Regions from separate parts of the Homo sapiens genome. Here regions 1, 2 and 3 are each linked to region 4. Evidence: promoter capture Hi-C in human tissues and cell types (Jung and others, 2019). All regions are on one chromosome and are shown on one strand. The core of a region is centred on a gene start or on the middle of the fragment in contact, and the rest is flanking DNA. Distances in the headings are between cores, read along the strand shown. Region 1 overlaps INPP4A (inositol polyphosphate-4-phosphatase type I A). Region 2 holds the start of ZAP70 (zeta chain of T cell receptor associated protein kinase 70). Region 3 has its middle 8.4 kb from the start of INPP4A. Region 4 holds the start of TMEM131 (transmembrane protein 131).

Region 1 (3,017 bases), core at 248-2,747, 460 kb after region 4:
TTGCTTGCATCTCTAAAGGGTGTATTCTCAAACCAATTAATTTGAATTTTCAAGAAGGATGACCTAAGTGTATAAACTCTGGAAATGTGAAGGAAGTATTTAGGCAGATGGTTGTTTCTGGGAAACAGGGCTCTACTAGGAAACAAGGATGCCCAGTTCAAGCTTCTCCCTGGATTATGGGGTGTGTCAGTTGGGATGCTTTTGGTTGCCAACAGTGACATTTATTATCTCAGAGAACTGGAGTCTCCATCAGCATGTCAGCAGTTTCATCAAGGACCTCGATTCTGCTCCTCTGTCCAGCCATCACTGCCGGTTTCATCCTAGGGGGTTAGTCTCCTCATGATTCTGAGATGGTCGTTGGGGGCAGTGGGACTGCGTGCTTCCTTGTTCCTGTCCAGCAGGAGCAGGGAAGGAGACAAAGCAGCTGATTCCCCAGCCACAGTGTCTACCAGTCCTTCCCTCTGGCCTGTGGAGCAAAGGGTCACGTGGCCTTCCCTGGACCAGCAACATGAGGCTGTGAGAGTGCTGTGTGCTGGTTGGCTTAGGCTGGTGGTCCTCCAGGTGTGGTCCTCAGACCAGTAGCATCAGCATTACCTGAGAACTTGTTAGAACTGGAGATTAGTGGATCCTACCCCACCCACTGAATCAGAAACTCTGGGATGGGGCCCAGAAAGCTGTGCTTTAAGAAGACTTCCAGGTGATTCTGATGCAAGGTCACATTGGAGAACAGCTCTTTTAGTTTAATCAAGACTCCCCTACTCCCCAGCTGGAGACAGGGCTGACTTTTCCTGAGGACCGGGGAGGAGGTTAGGTCCTAGAATAGCAAGAAGGAAGAGAGGATGGTGGGTGGCCAGCCCACAGTGTGAACTAGCCAGTGTTTACGGCCCTGGGGGCCGCTTTGCTCTCCGGAGTCCTTCCCCTGCCCCCCATTCGCCAGCTTGTCCACCCATATAAGTTTCTCAGCCCCCTTGCCTCAAGCTTCTCCAGCTCCTCCAAGCATGGCCTGTACTCTCCCTGTACAGCTCGGTGCTAAAGGAAGCAACCTCAGTAACACTCCAGCTCCAGGTCCCTCTCTGGCCTAGCAGGGATGGAGTCTACCTGGCTGGTGCTGAAGAGTCCCAAAGAGCTGTTATGACTCACCTTCTGAAGCCATTCCTGAAGTGTGTTCATTTGTGTAGGGGTTGCCTACGCTGCTACTCCTTGCTCAGCTAGGAAAAAAGAGCAGTGCAGTTAGTAGGTGCTTGAGAAATATTTAGGGAATTGGCCTGGAGACAGCCCAAGTGACTACTTTCAGTGGTGATTTTTACCTGTGTTATGTCCCCTTTTTTGCAAGTACAACTCCAACTTGATGTTTGGGTGAAATAAATAGCCACCTCCACGGTGTAATTTGTGAGATCACAATGACCCACTTTTCCGAATTTTTCCTGAAACTAAAGAGTTGAGATATTTCTGGGTTTTCAGCTTTAAAGATTCATCTTAATACATAAAAATAACGTTTAGGAGTAGTCTTGCACTGAGCTCTAACCACATTAGCACTAATTATTGCGGAAGGAAGGGCACCTGAGGAGGAAACATGCTAGAGAAGGGTCCACACAGCATGTTTCAAAATGCAGTGGTTCATGAAATCAATTTGAGGTTGTAACTGGCATTAAAAAGCTTTTTGAAATAGCAAATATCCAAGTACGTTTCCTATGGGAAGGATAAGCATTTTTTGGTAAAACATCTAGTTATTCACATGTAGTGTATTTGGGGTGTTGTTATGGTGTGACTGTTTCTTAGAGTGGATTTTGGTAAAGATGTGTCAAACCCTAGGGCTGAGTGCAGGGGGTCCTAACCTGTAGGAAGGTGGGGCCTACGCTGGATGTGTATACACTTGGGGTCTTTTCCTGGGCGTGCGACCTGTGACTTTTGTCAGAACCTGGTGGTCTGTGACTCGCCATAGATCAAGAACCAATGACCTAAAACCAGAGGAGACTTTCAGTGGTGAGGGCCAGTGGGAGTGGAGCTGGGGGCGTGAGGAGCAGGCACAAAGTCCTGAGCCTGGTCCTGCTCTGGCGTATTGTTCGTGGTAGTAAGCCATCTGAGCCAAATCCTCCTGATGAGGAGTCCTCTGCACAGCCACACTGACAGACAGGAGAGACAGTGGCAGGCAGTGTGTTGATCACCTGAGGTCGGGGGTTCAAGACCATCCTGGCCAACGTAGTGAAAACCCGTCTCTACTAAAAATACAAAAATTAGCTGGGTGTGGTGGTGCACACCTGTAATCCCAGCTACTTGGGAGGCTGAGGCAGGAGAATCGCTTGAACCCAGGAGGTGGAGGTTGCAGTGAGCCGAGATCACATCACTGCACTCCAGCCTGGGTGACAGGGCAAAACTCCCTCTCAAAAAAAAATTTAACTCTGGATGCCAGATGGGTCCTTTACCTAACAGGTGGATCAGCATATTTCTACATAAGAGAGAGAGAGAGAGTCTCCTTGTTTGGGGCTGGCCCCAGTGAAAGCATTGCTGCTTTTGACTCCCCGCTGGAATCCTCTGTGCCTTAACACTGTCAGGACAGTTCCCAAGGCTGGCTTAGAGTCAGCTATGATCCCCATTATTTAATGCAGGCGCTAGTCTGGTTTGTATCACAAAGCTTATGTAGTAGTGGCTTTGGCATGTCTGTGTTTGTTTTTTGGGGGTAGGGGCAAGTTGGATTGTAGTGCTGGATGTGAACCCAAGTCAGCTTTCTCATCTGTAAAATGGGGAAGGTGCTAGGCTCACAGGAGGGTGGTGGGGATTGATAATATACATAGGAGAGGGCTGTGAACTGCAGTGCACTGGACCGGTGCAAACATGAATGTTTCGACCCCTGCTCCACTTGACAGTCTTGGTAACTGTTTTCCCCACAGTACTCTTATTTTTCACATGTGCTCAAAGGGCTGGAGTACACCCTATTGTTGACTCCTGCTCAGGGTACCTTCCAGGGGAAATATCACAGAAGAGGGAGGTGCTGAGAGGCAGGGACATCCAGCGAAGTT
Region 2 (2,979 bases), core at 425-2,924, 280 kb before region 4:
GGGGTAGGGTGTGAGGGGATCCTCAGGCAGACTGGGGAGCTGAGCCTGTTGTAACCGAGCGAGTTACAGAGAAACGCCGCACTTTGAGACGAATTCAGGGGTCCTTTATTAGCTGGCGACTGAGAGACAGCTAGTGCTCAAAATTCTCTCAGCCCCAAAGAAGGGGCTTGATTTTCTTTTATACTTTGGTTTAGAAAGGACAGGTGGGGGTCTAAAACAATCTTACAGAAGTAAAGCAGGCAAAAAGTTAAAAGGATAAATGGTTACGGGAAAGCAAACAGTTCCAGGTGCAGGGGCTTAAAATCTATCACAAGGTGATAGACACGGGGCTTTGGGCGTTATCAACCGGACACAAACGCCGGGGCTCTGGGTGCTATTAACCGGGCGAATTCCTGGGAACTGCGGATATAGCTTGCCACAGTATCTTATCAGTTAATTGCATTCTTGGATGTGCTGGGAGTCAGCTTGCACAAATTAAGTCCTTGAGGAAGCGGGGTGGGTAAGGGGCTGCAAATGAAAGAGCCAAGATGGAGTCTGTCTGGCTCTCTTAGCTAAGGGAGAGTCAATTCAGGTTAAAACAAGGTAGGGTATCACAAGCCCACTTAACAAGGGCAGCAGGACCCCAAGAAGAAAAGCTTTAGGAGTCTCCACAGTGGGCCCAGGGCAGTTCCACACAGGTCTCTGAGGCCCCACAGACAGGAGAGCTGTGACGACTCCCTTAGTGCCCAAGAAAGCAAGGAGGTGGTGGGCAAGGGGCTCCCAGAGGCCTTGGGGCACTAGAGGGGAGATGGAGCCGAGGGAGTGGCTCTGCAGGCCCCTCTCTGAGAGAGTGCATGAGGTGTGGCCCCAGGCCCAAGGGTAGGGGGTGCACAGGGTGAGGGAAGGGAGGAGAGGAAGAGGAGGAGGAGGTGGTGGCCACAGCGGGATGGCACTCAGCCAGGTTCAGCTTCGTGGGAAAGGTCCCAGGTGGGCCGGGCTAGCACTGGGGATGCCCTGGCTCTGTGTCTCGGTTGGGTGGCTGACTCCTCCTGGAACGCATCCCTGACATCCTCCAGGCTGGCTTGGGGATACTCTGGGGACACACAGTGCCCAGGCTTCCGGCCTCCCAGCCCTGGCTCCCTGTGGACTCAGCTGCCCCCAACAAGCCTGCGAGCCACTGGAGAGCAAGGGCAGGCTGTCCTTGCCATCCAGATGCCTGGCACAGAAGGGGTTCTCACCTTCGGGGTATGGGCTGACTCAGTGGGTTTCTCCTCCCTCCAGCTCTAACCTGCCTGTGGAATAAACAAATCACTCCTCTGGGTTGTCTAGCTGGTGCAGGCCCCAGGGCGACGCCCCTTTGAGGGGAAAATGGGGGCATTCCAGTTTCCATGAGCCCTGGGACTCCCCTCCTTCCCACCACTGCTGCCTACCCTCCGGTTCCAGGTATGCAGGCTTCCTCCCTTCTGACGGTTCCTGCTGCTGGAGTCGTCCTTCCTGAAACCCTGCCTTTGCTTAGCCTCATTCCCATCTCTCAGTCCCATCCTGCAGCTGGGCAGGCAGTGCTGGGCCCCGGAAATGCCCTCTGCCTCCCTGGAGCACGTGGCCTGTGATTTTCCTTGAGCACAGCACTTTGTGACTTTGATGTAAACATCAAACACAGCCCCCTTTCCTGTCTTCGCATCCAGGAAATAGGTTAGTTTCAGACAAGCCTGCTTGCCGGAGCTCAGCAGACACCAGGCCTTCCGGGCAGGCCTGGCCCACCGTGGGCCTCAGAGCTGCTGCTGGGGCATTCAGGTAAGCGGCTGTCCTCGGGCCTTCTGCCTGTGTCCTGCCACCAGGGCCACCCCAGGGGGCTCTGGGAGACCTGGCAGAGGATGAACCCCCCCCATCCATGAGTGAGAAACCCTGGCGGGGTGTGACATCCTCCCCCGGGGTGTGTGCGGAGAGTGTGAGCGGCAGGGCCTCCCTCTCAGGCTGGGGGCTTGGGCTGCAGGGAAATCCAAACCGGCTTTGTAAGCCCCGATTCCTCACCCAGAACCGGCTCTCCATTGGCATTGGGACCAGAGACCCCGCAAGTGGCCTGTTTGCCTGGACATCCACCTGTACGTCCCCAGGTAAGTGGTGCCTGGGTGGAGTGGCACCTGGCCACCGTCTCCATGGTGGGCTGTGTCTGGAGGAGGAAGACAGAATATTAACTGGGAGTCAGGAGGTTGCTGGGAGGACCAGGAGAGCTGGAGGACTGGGCTGGGTGGTGACTGGCTGGAGATGGAGGCAGACGGGGCTTGTGGCCACGCTGAGGGAAGCAGCTCCCCCTCCAGAGGCTTGGCCGAGCGGGGCTGTTCAGGGGACACGGTGAGGCCTGCTCAGTCCCTGGGCTCCTGCTGGGCCCTGTTTGGCTGCATCCTTGGCTCTCGGAGGCAGAGAAACCTCCAGAGAAAGCGCATGTGCACTCTGTGAAGATGAGGGGGCTGCTCACCAGGGCCGTGAGCTCCATCAGCAGAATGCTGTGATTCCTGTGAGGAGTCCAGGGCAGGCTTGAGCCACTTGTAGGCGAGCTCAGGTTAGAGGAAGACCTGGAGAGAGAAAGAGCAAAACACCGAGTTCTCCTCAACTGCTGTGTGTTCTCGGCAAGTTGCTTGGCCTCTCTGACCTCAGTTTGTGCATCTGTTAAATGCACATGCAGATATGGGCACCTGGCAGGCGCCTGGTTCCTGACTGTTGGCGAGAGGCTGGGAAATGTGTCCCAGGTAGGAAGCATCCCCGACAGGAAGGAACAGGAGTTCATGAGGTGAGCAGCTCGAGATGATTCATTACTCTCGTCTTGGTTGGAACAGTAGGCAGACAGGAGGTGTTTAATAATGCCTTGCTGAGAGATCAGGGTCAGGGACTCCTAAGGTGCCACCTGTGAAGCTGCCTCCTGCTGAATCCAGAGCTTCCTTTTCCTCTTCACACCTGCCCTCCATCCTCAGCCCCACTGCCCTGGCAGTGTTGCGGGGGTGG
Region 3 (2,899 bases), core at 80-2,579, 440 kb after region 4:
AAAGGAACCAGGGTCACCTGCTACCCTCTTTCTGGATGAGTAGCCATTCCTCTGCAGTGCTTCCTGAACCCCTGAGACTTCTCTGAAAAAATGCCTCCTTTTTCCTCCTTTGTCCTGTTCACTGATAGTTAATTGTATCTCTGTACTATGGGACGCTCCCTTCAGATGCATCCTCCAAACTGGGAAGAGTTAATTTCCCAAACCTTAGACTGGTTGGCTTAGGATTGGGCTCAGGGGAAGGGAACCCAGAAGTCTAATATGGGGCAAAAGAGTATAAGTTTTTTTAGCAGTCAGACTTTTGGTGTCTCCTCCCTGCGCAAACTGGTAAAAGGCCTCAGGATTTTTGAGCTGCCCTTACCCCCGCTGTTGCAGGAAGTCAAGGACCCCGAATGGAGGGACCGGCTGAAGCCATGGCAGAAGAACATAAATTGTGAAGATTTCATGGACATTTATCACTTTCCCAATCAATACTCTTGTGATTTCCTATGCCTGTCTTTACTTTAATCTCTGAATCCCGTCATCTTCATAAGCTGATGATGAATGTCGCCTCAAGACCCTGTGATGATTGCGTTAACTGCACAAATTATTTGTAGAGCATGTGTGTTTAAAAAATATGAAATCTGGGCACCTTGAAAAAAGAACAGGATAACAGTGATGTTCAGGGAACAAGGGAGATAATCTTAAAGTCTGGCTGCCTGTGGGCTGGGCAGGACAGAGCCATATTTCTCTTATTACTGAAAATGGGTAAGAGAAATATCGCTGAATTCTTTCCCCAGTAAGGAATATTAATAATTAACAGCCCTGGGAAAAGAATGCATTCCCAGGGCGGGGCCTCTACAATGGCTGCCCTAGGAGTGTCTGCCTTATGCAGATGCAGATAGGGATGAAACACACCCTAGTCTCCTGCAGCATGCCCAGGCTTGCTAGGATTAGGAAATTCCAGCCTGGCAAATTCCAGTCAGACCGGTTTTCTGCTCTTGAACCCTGAAAATGCATGCACAGTGGGACATGGAAGTTCATTAGTGATTCTAGTTTCACCCTGACCTTCTGCCTTGTGATCTTTTGTCACCCTTGAAGCATGTGATCTCTGTGACCCACACCCTATTCGTACACACCCTCCCTTTTGAAAATTGCTAATAAAAACTTGCTGGTTTTACGGCTCAGGGGGCATCACGGAACCTGCCAACATGTGATGTCTCCCCCGGACACCCAGCTTTAAAATTTCTCTCTTTTGTACTCTTTCCCTTTATTTCTCAGACCGGCCGACACTTATGGAAAATAGAAAAGGACCCTCGTTGAATTATCGGAGGCAGATTCCCCCAATACCCACCCTTATTTCATTTTGATACACATTTTCTTTCTTTTCTTCTTCTTTTTAATTTTTTTTCTGAGACAGAAGCTTGTTCTGTTGCCCAGGCTGGAGTGCAGCGGTGTGATCTCGGCTCACTGCAACCTCTGCCTCCTGGGTTCAAGAGATTCTCCTGCCTCAGCCTCCTGAGTAGCTGGGATTATAAGCACCCACCACCATACCTGGCTAATTTTTGTATTTTTAGTAGAGACAGGGTTTCACCATGTTGGCCAGGCTGGTCTTGAACTCCTGGCCTCAAGTGATCCGCCCACTTTGGCCTCCCAAAGTGCTGAGATTACAGGCATGAGCCACCGCACCTGGCTGATATATGTTTTCTAATAACCCAGTTTGTCTTTTCTTGCCTTCAGGCCGTGAAACTCCAAACGGTCATGCAACTGGAGCCTTGGACCACAGCCCCTTCTGCCAGGGACCCTTAGATAGGCCTCTGAGGGAGCTCTGACTGCCGTTTTCCTCAAACAGTGCCTCCTGTCAGCATGAAGCAGTTAAGATCGGCCTTTGTCCTGATCCTTATTCTTATTCTAACAGCAGTTAGATGTACTTCTTTAGAGGGGGAAATGATAGATGCAGGAGGCAGATAAGGGGGAAGGTCCCCAGAGAACCTCCCATGGGCCTGCACACTGGGAGAACAGGGTGGAGCCAGGGAAAGTTTGTGCCGTTTGCAGTGGGGAGGAGCCTGGCCTCTCCTTTCCTGTGTAGTGGCCTGGGATTCAATCTGTGAGTCCTGTTAGCAGGACTGCGTCTTGCTTTGCTGAGTTTTTTTTTTTTTTCCTTTTTTGCCCAATAATATCCTGCTCTACTCACCCTTCAGTGTGTCGTCTGTGTGCCTAAATTTTCCTGGTCTTGTGACAAGAACCAGAGTTTAGGGGAACTAAGGAGCAATGCTCTGCAACAGTATGTTGAGTTTTCACATTAATTTTTCTCAAAATATTTTCTAATTTCCCTTCTGAGTTCTTCTTTGACCCTTTGGTTACCGAGAACTGTGTTGTTTAATTTCCATTTACTTGTAAATTTCCCAAATTTCCTTCTGTTGTTGATTTCTGTTTTAATTCCATTGTGCTCAGAGAACATAATTTGTATGACTTCAATTCTTTTTTATTTATTTAGGCTTTTAAAAGTCCTACCATATAATCTATCCTAGAGGATATTTCATGTACAGTTGAACATGAGGTATGTTCTGTTATTGTTGGGTGGAATATTCTACAACTTTGTTAAATCTAGTTGGCTTATGGTATTGTTAATGTTTTATATATCCTTTTAGATTTACTTCATTATTTTATCCATTACTTAAAGTGGAGTACTGCAATAATCAATTACTACTATTACAATGTTCACTTCTCACTTCAATTCTGTTTTTGCTACATGTATTCTCGGGTTCTATTGTGGATGTATATATGTCTATAATTACTATCTCTTCCTCATAGTTTAAACTTGTTACAATTATAAAATGTCTCTGTTTGTCAGTAGTATTTTTGTTTTGTTTTAAGTTTGTTTTGTATTATATTAGTATAACTTCTTCAGTATTCTGTTGGT
Region 4 (2,867 bases), core at 16-2,515:
GTGTAGATGAAATTACACTGATTTGGTCTTCAAGATTACAAAATAATTTTTGACCCTGTCCAAGTACCCGTTTTGCAGCAGTACAATACTAATGAGATTTTTAAAATAGGGGCCAGCCCTTAACTGTAAATTATAGATAAATGCTTGCAAGCTGGCAACTTCACGTTTATTTTTAAAGGCTTTCACATCAAAGATAAAGGCACCGAATCACGTATTTTAAAATAAGAAATGTAAACAGGCTTTCAACAGCTTACTAAAGAGTTAAATGGAATTGTATTTAGGTCTAATAATAAAGTTATCAATAACGCAGAGACACTAAAGGAGGAAGCTACAGGACCAAGATTTCCCCTCGAAGAAATGTCTGAACAAATTCAAAGTGAAATTTTTTAAGCTGTGTCTCGCTATTTTTACCACATTTTAAAGTAAGCTCTGTCTGCATGCAACCAACCGCAACCAAGAAAACAGAAGTGTCCTAAAATGTACCTATTCGCCGCAATAAAGCCAAAAAATATGCCCCTCCTACCTAGCGGGCCAAGTGGCAAGAACGTACGAGAAGTCAGGAAGTTTTGAAATGGCAGTGACAGGAGACGGGGGAAGGCACGGGAAGGAATCACGGAGAGCGAAGGCCACTCCGTGCGGCGGGCGCCGCGAGGTCCCGGCTCGGGACGGTACCCGACCGCCCAACTTTGCGCCGGAGCCCCGGCCGCGGCCCTTCCTCCCGGCCCAGCCCTCCCGGCCTCCGCGAGAGCGGGGTGACAGCCCCGCCGCAGGGACGCCGCCGGGGGACACCCACCTTCCTTCTCGGCCCGCGCCGCAGCCACTACGAGGGTCATCACCAGGTGCAGCGCGCCTAGGAGGCCGGCGGCCGCGCTCCGCGGGCCCCCGCTACGGGCGGCCGCAGGTTCCAGCCCGGCCCCGGCGGACGTGGAGACGGCGGCGGTGGTGGCTCCGGTTGCTCCTCCTCCCGCCCGCTTCCCCATCCCTGCCGGCCGGGGGCCGCCGCGCTCGAGGTCCGGCGCGGCCCTTCTCGGCGAGGCGGCGGCGGCGCGGAAGCCGTGGTCCGGGCTCTGGCCGCGGCGCCGGGAGCGACAACGGTTGCGAGCCCGGGGCTCGATCTCCGAGCGTGGGCCTGGGTCCGTGCGTGCGTGTGAGCGAGAGTGTCAGTCACGGTCTTTGCCTGGGCATCGCCTACAAGCAGTCGGAGCGGAGAGGCCGCGGGTCAGGCGCGGCGGGCGGCCATACTGGAAACGGGCACGGCCCGCGAGCCCTGAGCGCTGGCCTGCGAGGGGCGGGGCGCGGCTCTGGGCACCGCCCACGCTGTGCCGACACCTGGGCTGTCCGGCGGTCAGTCTGTCCGCCCCGGAGCCCCCTGGGCCCCACCTCCTCGTCCCGCTCTCGGAGGCCTGCGGCTTCACGGCCAGACAGAACCAGGACAGAACAACCCCAGCCCGTTACCGCTACCTGGCGCAGGAGAAGGAGGGAGGCAGGCCCAGGTCCAGCTGCCAGGACTTATGATGGCGGCTTCTGCTTCGCGGAGGCGGTGTCGGCAATCACGTGGAGACGGGGCGGCCTCGCCGCGCAGCCGCCGCGTTGCGTGGGCGGGGCAGGGGCGGAGTTGCGGGGCGCTAACCTCTTCTCCGGCGCCTGGGCAATCCTCCGTGCTCTGTCCTACAGTGGTAGAGCCTTCCAGGGGTGTGAGTGCGCATACAGACCGCGAGACGAGCGCGGAAGGTCCGTTCCAGTGACTCTTCCTGGTGGCACCCCCACCTCTCGACCGCTTTGACGTCGAGAATACCCCGGGCCTGACTCAGTTCTTGATGGTGCTTCCTTGAGGATGGTGGCCCGCTGAACTCATCCTTGGGTCTTCCAAATCATGGTACCCAGGAGGAGCTTGATGGAGTCCTCTTGCCTTGGCTTGTGCCCACATTGGCGCGGAACACCTCGTGTGCAGAAAGCGTCGGTGACTCTGGATGGAGAAGGCAGGGGCAAACAGACTGCTCTTTAGAATATCCAGTAGCCGGCTTCCTCTCTCGAGGAAGAATTCTTTTTTTTCTTTTCTTTATTTTTTAATTATTTATTTATTTTTGAGACAGGGTCTGGTTCTGCCGCCCAGGCTGGAGTGCAGTGGTGCGGTCTGGGACTACAGGCACCCGCCACCACGCCACGCCAATTTTTCTTTTTCTTTTAAGAAACGCTGTCTCACTATGTTGGCCGAGCAGGTCTCGAACTCCTGGGCTCAAGCAGTCCGCCTTCCTCGGCCTTCCAGAGTGCTGGGATCACAGGCGTGAGCCACTGTGCTGGGCCCGGAAAAATTCTTAAGACGTCTGTTACCTTCACGAGCCATCTCGCGCCTCTTAGATGCCCTTTTCATCTTAGGTTGAGCTTCTTGGTGCGCATGGCTGTTGTCTCCAAGACTTAATTTAAGCTCTTGGAGGGGGTCCTTCTTTACTCATCTTAGTAACTTCCTCCCAGCTTGTAGCCCAGAGACATTTTACTTTCCTTAGCTGTATTTGTTGAGTGAGTCGATATATGTGTAAGGCCAAGTCTGCCCACAGTACGTCTCAGAACAAGCTAGATAGGAAAATAAGGTTTCAGAAAGACAAAAGGAACTCCAGAATCTACTCTATGAAGTAGTCCCCTGTGTCAAGCAAGCACTTAAATTTATTCATAAATTAATATATATTTAAATATGACCTTAGCCTAATGATTTTAAAAAGCAATTTTAGGGCAGGGCGCAGTGGCTCACGCCTGTAATCCCAGCACTTTGGTAGGCCAAGGTGGGCGGATCACCTGAGGTCAGGAGTTCGAGACCAGCCTGGCCAACATGGTGAAAACCCGTCTCTACTAAAAAATATAAAAATTAGCCG

What was found. Contacts are between HindIII fragments. The study calls those that stand out against the background at their distance.
Region 1: a fragment that was not itself captured here is called in contact with the fragment with the promoter of TMEM131 in region 4 in 1 of the 25 tissues and cell types used here (dorsolateral prefrontal cortex).
Region 2: the fragment with the promoter of ZAP70 here is called in contact with the fragment with the promoter of TMEM131 in region 4 in 1 of the 25 tissues and cell types used here (adrenal gland).
Region 3: a contact is called between a fragment that was not itself captured here and the fragment with the promoter of TMEM131 in region 4, in 2 of the 25 tissues and cell types used here (dorsolateral prefrontal cortex and pancreas).

Annotation. Positions count from the first base shown.
Region 1 is chr2:98,451,724-98,454,740 of GRCh38, forward strand. All of the region lies in intron 1 of INPP4A (inositol polyphosphate-4-phosphatase type I A), which reads left to right. Among named protein-coding and RNA genes, the nearest start is that of INPP4A, 8.4 kb to the left of the region's middle. The HindIII fragment of the contact is 4,237 bases long and covers 1-3,017 here.
Region 2 is chr2:97,711,902-97,714,880 of GRCh38, forward strand. ZAP70 (zeta chain of T cell receptor associated protein kinase 70) reads left to right here and starts at 1,675. Exons shown (of 14, transcript NM_001079.4): 1 at 1,675-1,773; 2 at 2,015-2,093. RefSeq lists an enhancer at 1,483-2,456. The HindIII fragment of the contact is 22,881 bases long and covers 1-2,979 here.
Region 3 is chr2:98,434,962-98,437,860 of GRCh38, forward strand. No RefSeq gene overlaps it. Among named protein-coding and RNA genes, the nearest start is that of INPP4A, 8.4 kb to the right of the region's middle. RefSeq lists enhancers at 408-1,607, 649-1,393, 1,394-2,137. The HindIII fragment of the contact is 5,831 bases long and covers 1-2,899 here.
Region 4 is chr2:97,994,683-97,997,549 of GRCh38, forward strand. It overlaps TMEM131 (transmembrane protein 131), which reads right to left and starts at 1,266. Exons shown (of 41, transcript NM_015348.2): 1 at 794-1,266. The coding sequence starts at 980. RefSeq lists silencers at 556-1,115, 1,226-1,475 and enhancers at 1,012-1,525, 1,696-1,975. The HindIII fragment of the contact is 13,320 bases long and covers 1-2,867 here.